Linked DNA regions of Homo sapiens: region 1 is linked to region 2. Evidence: promoter capture Hi-C in 16 types of primary human blood cells and fetal thymus (Javierre and others, 2016). All regions are on one chromosome and are shown on one strand. Each heading gives the region's core, a stretch centred on a gene start or on the middle of the fragment in contact. The rest is flanking DNA. Distances are from core to core; before and after follow the strand shown.

The links. The method cuts DNA at HindIII sites, captures the fragments that hold promoters and counts their contacts. A CHiCAGO score of 5 or more calls a contact.
Region 1: a fragment that was not itself captured here is called in contact with the fragment with the promoter of SIK3 in region 2 in 9 of 17 cell types (activated CD4 T cells, total CD8 T cells, naive CD8 T cells and 6 more); the score reaches 9.8 in activated CD4 T cells.

The regions. Positions count from the first base shown.
Region 1 is chr11:117,028,060-117,031,611 of GRCh38, forward strand. All of the region lies in intron 1 of SIK3 (SIK family kinase 3), which reads right to left. Among named protein-coding and RNA genes, the nearest start is that of SIK3, 69 kb to the right of the region's middle. The HindIII fragment of the contact is 9,274 bases long and covers 1-3,552 here.
Region 2 is chr11:117,096,928-117,100,011 of GRCh38, forward strand. It overlaps SIK3 (SIK family kinase 3), which reads right to left and starts at 1,501. Exons shown (of 25, transcript NM_001366686.3): 1 at 1,216-1,501. The coding sequence starts at 1,488. RefSeq lists an enhancer at 9-58 and silencers at 1,380-1,429, 1,510-1,689. The HindIII fragment of the contact is 6,059 bases long and covers 359-3,084 here.

The sequences.
Region 1 (3,552 bases), core at 265-2,764, 69 kb before region 2:
TTTTATTATTACTACTACTACTGTTAATAGTATTACTACTACTACTACCACCTCCCTTTTGCAAAAGAACTAAAGATCAGAGGAGGGAAACAACCTGCTTAAAATTATATCAACACTAAGAAATGACGGTAGGACTCAAACTCAATTCCTATGACTCCAAAATCTGTGACTTTTTTCTTAAAGTTAAACCCTTTTTTCATTTTTCAGCATGAAACCCTTCATTCATTCACTCATATCTTCATCTACTCAAGAAATATTTATTAAACACCTACTACATGCCAGATGCTAATCTCAAGCCCTCAGGAAACAATTAAGAGTACACAGTTCCTGCTCTAGGCGGTAGAAAGCATGTGTTACAATCTAGTATAATAGGGACAGCTTAACAACAACAACAAAAGTACACCAATGTAGGAGGTGGCAGAAAGAAGTAGGTACATGGCACAGTGGGAACACAGACAAGGAAGCCCTTAACAATTCCTATAGAGGGCTTGCTTTCCATAGGAGGTTATGATGTTACCTGAATCTTAGGATGTGAAAGAAATCTGGCAAATGGATAGAAGAAAGAAGCATGTCAAGGAAAAAAAAAACATGAGCAAAAGCATAAAGGCCTGAAAAACAATTCTAATATGTTGAGGAAACTAGCTCAGCATGACTGGGAGCCATATCAGGCATGGCCAGGGATAAATCATGAAAGTAGCCTGGAGGAAGGAAATCAAGACCAGGCTCATGGGTGCCATGCTACAGAGAACAGGCTTTATTTTACAGGAGACAGAAGACAGTGACGGTGAGAAACATGCTGACATGCATGCATTAAAATGACAAACTGGGCCAGGCATGGTGGCTCATACCTGTAATCCCAGCATTTTGTATATTTTGTTTTTGAGATTGAATCTTGCTTTGTCACAGTGGTGTGATCTCGGCTCTCTGCAACTTCCACCTCCTGGGTTCAAGTGATTTTCCCGCCTCAGCCTCCCGAGTAGCTGAAATTACAGGCACCCGCCACTACGCCCGGCTAATTTTGGTATTTTTAGTGGAGACAAGGTTTCACCATGCTGGCCAGGCTGGTCTCGAACTCTTGACCTCAAGTGATCCGCCAACCTCGGTCTCCCAAAGTGCTGGGATTACAGGTGTGACCCACTGTGCCCAGCCTATCCCAGCACTTTGGAAGGCAGATGCAGGTGGATCACTTGAGCTCAGGAGTTTGAGACTAGCCTGGGCAACATGGTGAAACCCTGGATCTACAAAAAATTAGCTGGGCATGGTGGCAAGCACCTATAGTCCCAGCTACTTAGGAGGCTGAGGTGGAAGGATGAATTGAACCCAGGAGGCAGAGGCTGCAGTGAGCCAAGATTGCACCACTGCACTCTAGCCTGAGCAACAGAGCCAGACCCTGTCTCAAAAATAAAATTAAAAATTAAAAGACAAAATGGTTTTAATGTGAAGGATGAAACTGAGGGATGGAACTAGGTCAGAAATGGGCGTATCAGTTAAGACACCAATGCAGCAGTACAAAAAATATGAGGGCCTAAATTAAGGCAGTGGAAAGGGGAGGTAACAAATTAGAGAGCTATTTTGGAAGCAGAATCTTAAAATGTAATGATTGACCAGTGGTACACAAAATTCAAGGAGAAATCTAGGCTAACTCCCAAACTTCTGGCTTCTACCACTGGATGGGTCATACTGCCATCAGTGGAGATGAAGTTAGTGTGGTTGGATAATGAGTTCAGTTTTGGATAAGGGAGTTACATTTGTGATGGCTATGTAGCATAAGGTAAAAATATCTAGTATGGTGTTAGAACTGGTTCCCAAAACTCAGCAGAGATATGGGATTTAGGAGTCATTATGATGTAAACTGTAGTTGAAGGCAAGGGGCTGGTTCTGATTAGCTCAAAGAAGAATATACATAGAGAGAAGAGGGAGAGCACAGAACCTAAGGAAACCCAGATATCTAAGGAGTAAAGAGAAACAATTTTGGAAAGCTGAGAACAGAGTTGTAGGAGGAGAGCCAAGAAAAAGTGTTTGGAAACCTTGAGTGAAGGTGAGTAACATGAACATTTATTTTCCTAGAGAAAGGAGAAATGTAAGAATATAAAAGGGGCATAAATCGAAACTATATTTCTGCAAAGTATTTTGGCAATGTATAGTTAACAAAGGCCTCTAAGATGCCCACGTCGTGACACAGTAATTCTACCTCTAAGAATGTATTGTAAGGAAGGAATCAGAAATCCTGACAGAAGTTTACATACAAAAATGTTTCTCACAGCATTATTTGCAATAGCAACAAAATGGAACTACTTTAAACATATGAAAGGAATGGTTAAATAAATTACTGTACATCCATACAACAAAGATTATGAGCCATTTAAAATCTATATTCATGGATAATTTTAAGTGATAAAAATACTCATGATATTGAGTATTGTGAAAAAAGCAAGACACAACTGCATATTCAGTTAACTATATAATATAAAAATGCAGAGGGCAAAAAAATGTATAAAATACAACAAAATGTTACTGGAAGTTATATACAGTTATTGAGATCACATGTGGTTTTTTTCTGCTTTAGCCTTTTTTCCTGCATTTACTGAATTTAATGATATTATTTTTTCCTTTAAAACAATTTGTTTTAAGACACAGTCTCATTCCCGTTGCCCAGGCTGGTGTGCAGTGGCAGGACTACAGCTCACTGCAGCCTCGACTTTCCAGGCTCAGGTGATCCTCCCACCTCAACCTCGCAAAGTACTAGGATTACAGGTGTGTGCCAGTGCACCCAGGCTTTTTAAAAATTAAACTCTATTTTGAGATATCTCACTGTGGTTTTAATTTGCAGTTCCCTAACGGCTAATGATGTTGAACATCTCTTCATGGGGTTACATGCCATCTGTATATCCTCTTCAGTGAAATGTTCCTTAACATCTTTTGCTGTTTTCTAATTGGATTACTTGGGGTTTTTTAATACTGAGTTTGGAGTTATTTATATATTCTAGACAGTAGTCTTTATTGGATATGTGGTTCAAAAATATTTTCTCCCAGTCTGTAGTTTGCCTTTTCAGCCTTTTAACATGGTCTTTAGCAGACCAAAATGTTTTAGTTCTTATGAAGTCCAACTTACCAATTTTTCCTTTTCTAGATCATACTTTTGGTGTCAAGTCTCAGAACTCTTTGCCTAGCTCTATATCCTAAACATTTTCTCCTGTTATTTTCTAAAATTTTTTTTAGTTTTATGTTTTACATTTAAGTCCATGATCCACTCTCAGTTAATTTTTTTATAAGGTGTGAAGTTTAGGTCAGATTTTTCCTTTTTTCCTTTTTTTTTTTTTGTCTTATAGCTGTCCAGTTGCTCCAGCACCATTTATTTAAAAGGCTATCCTTCCTGCACTGAATTGCTTCTGCATCTTTATCAAAAATCAGTTGGGCAATGGCCAATGAATACAGCATTTTATTTTATTTTATTTTATTTTTATTTTATTTATTTATTTGAGACAGAGTTTTGCTCTTGTTTCCCAGGCTGGAGTGCAATGGCGCGATCTTGGCTCACTGCAACCTCCACTG
Region 2 (3,084 bases), core at 251-2,750:
TAAGGGTTCTTCATTCCTCAGGCTGAGGGAAAACACAAGCTGCAGTTCTAAACATAATGAATGACTACATTAAAAGTATTCATTCAAGTAAGATATTGAGCAAAGAAAATTTTAGAGTAAAAATGGGCTTTGCGGGTTCCACCAAAACCAAAAGATTCCTCCTGATGTCTTAGATTCCAGTCCTCCCAACGAAGGCTACATGAAAGTGCTACCATATTTCCTCAAAGAATTTTACATGCATACATATATAGCTTCCTAATTGACCTTGGCCAATTTCACTCCTATAGCGCCTCAAATCCCTTTGAGAACTAAGGGCTCGATGAGTGTAATCTCCCGGTGTCTGGGTTCTTCAATCACAAGCTTCCCCCCAACCAGTAAAAGCCCACCCTGGGTTCTACAAAGCCCACAATTCCCGACCCTCCAACAACTAAAAATAACCAGCAATCAGCTCTCCCAAATTGTTTAACCCCTGACTACCTAGTGCCATCATAAACCTGGGACAGCCCCCACCCCCACCTCACTCCCCCATTCCCTGGGCCCCTTCCTGTGGACAAGCAAAGCAATTTCCCCCTTATTTCCCCATTTTCCTCATTGCCTCCTCCACTAATCGTGTCTCCTCGGGATCCCCTTCGCACCATCTATCAGTCTTAGATGATCAAATGCGGATTCCTGTCTCTGTCTTAAGGCACCAGGATCCTGGGACCTCCCAGCGCCCTGCAGACGTGCACATTCCCAGTCCGTGCCCCAGCCGTCCTGGGTCCCCTTACAAGCCCGGGTCTGCCACTTCACCCTTGTTTTTCCCCATCCTCCGGGTCCACATTTCATATGCCCCTGCCCTCATTCCCTTATGATTCCCTAGCTGCTGGTTCCAGAGTCTTCTGGGCTTACAGTCTCCCGGCCCTCGGGGAGTTCCGACCCCTTCTTTCCAATCATCCCCTTTACCCGCCTGCCCTCAGCCCCGAGGACCCCTCCCCGCGCCCGGCTCCTGGGCGCCGGTGCTCTGTGCCCTCGGCCCCCTGCTTGGAGTTCCGCCGTCTCGAGTCCCAGGTGTCCCTAGCTCCGCGCCCGCCCCGCCGCGGCTGGCTCCCTCCCGCCTCCCGGCCCCCAACGCTCCCACCACGCGCCGCGCTCGCCGCCCCGACCCCCCGGCTGGGGGGCGCGGACCTCTCCCGGCCCCGCCACGCTCCGACTGCCGCCTGGCCCCTGCGCCGGTACCTTGGCCTTGGTGACGAGGTGCGTGGCCCGCTTGACCACCGCGAAGTTGCCCTTGCCGATGGTGCGGTCGATCTCGTAGTAGCCGATACGGGCGGGCATGGGTCCGCGGGAGGCCGGGGCTGGGGGACGCGGCTGGCCGGCCGCAGGGGACACGGCAGCGGGGGCGGCTGGGGACCCCGGCGCGGGCGGAGGCAGCAGGCGGCCCGCGGGCCCGGCTCCCCCAGTCCCGGCCCCGGCAGCCCCGCCAGCTCCGCTCGCCGCCGCCGCCGCCATCTTGTTGTGCAGTGAAACCTCCGGGGCCGCGGGGAGCCGGCTCGGGGGAGGGGGCAAGGGGGGGCGGGAAAGGGGGGGCCGCGGACGTCACTCGGGGAGGCGGGGCGCTTTCGCCGACCGGCGCCCGGCTCCATGGCAACCGCGGGTCACGTGCCGACGCGCGTCACTGCCCGGAGCCATGGCAACCGTGACCTCACCGGCGGGCTCGACCTTCCCGCGTGGGCCCCGGTTCCTGAGGCGCTGGCTCCCGGGTGCCCCCCTCCGGGAGCTGGCGGTGGGAACCTTCGATGGGCCCCCAACCTCGAAGTCTCCGCCACCTTTCCCGAGTGGGGGGCGCAGGATGCCCGACCCAAAGCCAACCCCCCACCGCCGCTCGAATCGCCAATGTGACCTCTGCTGTGACCTCTGTCCCAGTTCAACGATCACCCAACCTCCCTTAACAAAAAAAAAGTGTTTCCTCATCACCAAAAATACCAGCGTTGTCCCACTTTAGCCCTTGAGGCCACAAATGCAGGAATAGCTACACTCTTGAAGCAACTGTAACCAAGTTGGTAACAACGCAGGGGAATTCTTCGGTAAAATTCCTTCCTCTTACAAAATCCAGCTCACCCTGCACAGTCAACCTAATTGTCACCGAATATAGGAGAATGGGGAAACTAGGATTTGCGTGTTCAAGGGCGGACAAGCCAGTCCAAACAGGCATTCCAGTCATTGGGTGGGTGACAGCCAAAGAAGGTACGTCATTTTCCTTCCTACCACCCCCATCTCTGAACAATTCTACAGGGATGTCTGTCAGAGTGCCTACATACTATTTCTGTTGCTTGTATAACCCTGATGAAGCAGTGGTGCGCATTGTCCAATGAACCACGTCGTGTTTAAACAACAGTCGGTTAAGCAAAATAAATAAGTAAATAATAAAAATTCCATCCTTCCTAGTGACTCTCCGAGGACATTGAGGGTCATCAAGTTAATAACTCCAGCAATTTCATATCTCTTTTTCTTCCCTTGCCTATTACCTGCATCCTTCATAGCTCCCAGGCTTCCTCCTCCTCTCTCCCCTTCCCTTTATTAAATAGATTAACTTAGCTGCTTTAGGTGAGGGTTGCAGGTAGGAAATCAGACTGTCAACAAAATAGTCTTTGGCAGGCTGGGTGGAAAGGAGGGAAGATTGTGAATATTCCAATGTTAAAATGTATTCCTTTGGACTAGTCCTGATCCATCCATATCTATGTCTCTCTCAATGGTAGAACTGTATTGTGAGGTCACTGCATGCACAGTATTAAAAACTGACACCCAGGGCACTGTAAATGTGTGGAAGGATAACTCGTGTTTACTCGCTGACCAAAGAACACCTCCTGGTGCTCCAATTCCCTATCCAACCATGAGTAATGGCTGGGACTTAAGATGGGACAGAGGGGTCATCCCACAATGGTCTTGGATCTATTCCCTGGTAGCTGTTCCAAACTGCCAACACAATTAACACTAATTGGCTCCCTTATTAGCAACTAAAGATAAGAATGAAGTGGGCCTTGGCTTCTTGCATTGGTTAAGCCCTTTCATCAGCTGAGCTCATTCCATCCCAGATAAATGATGGGG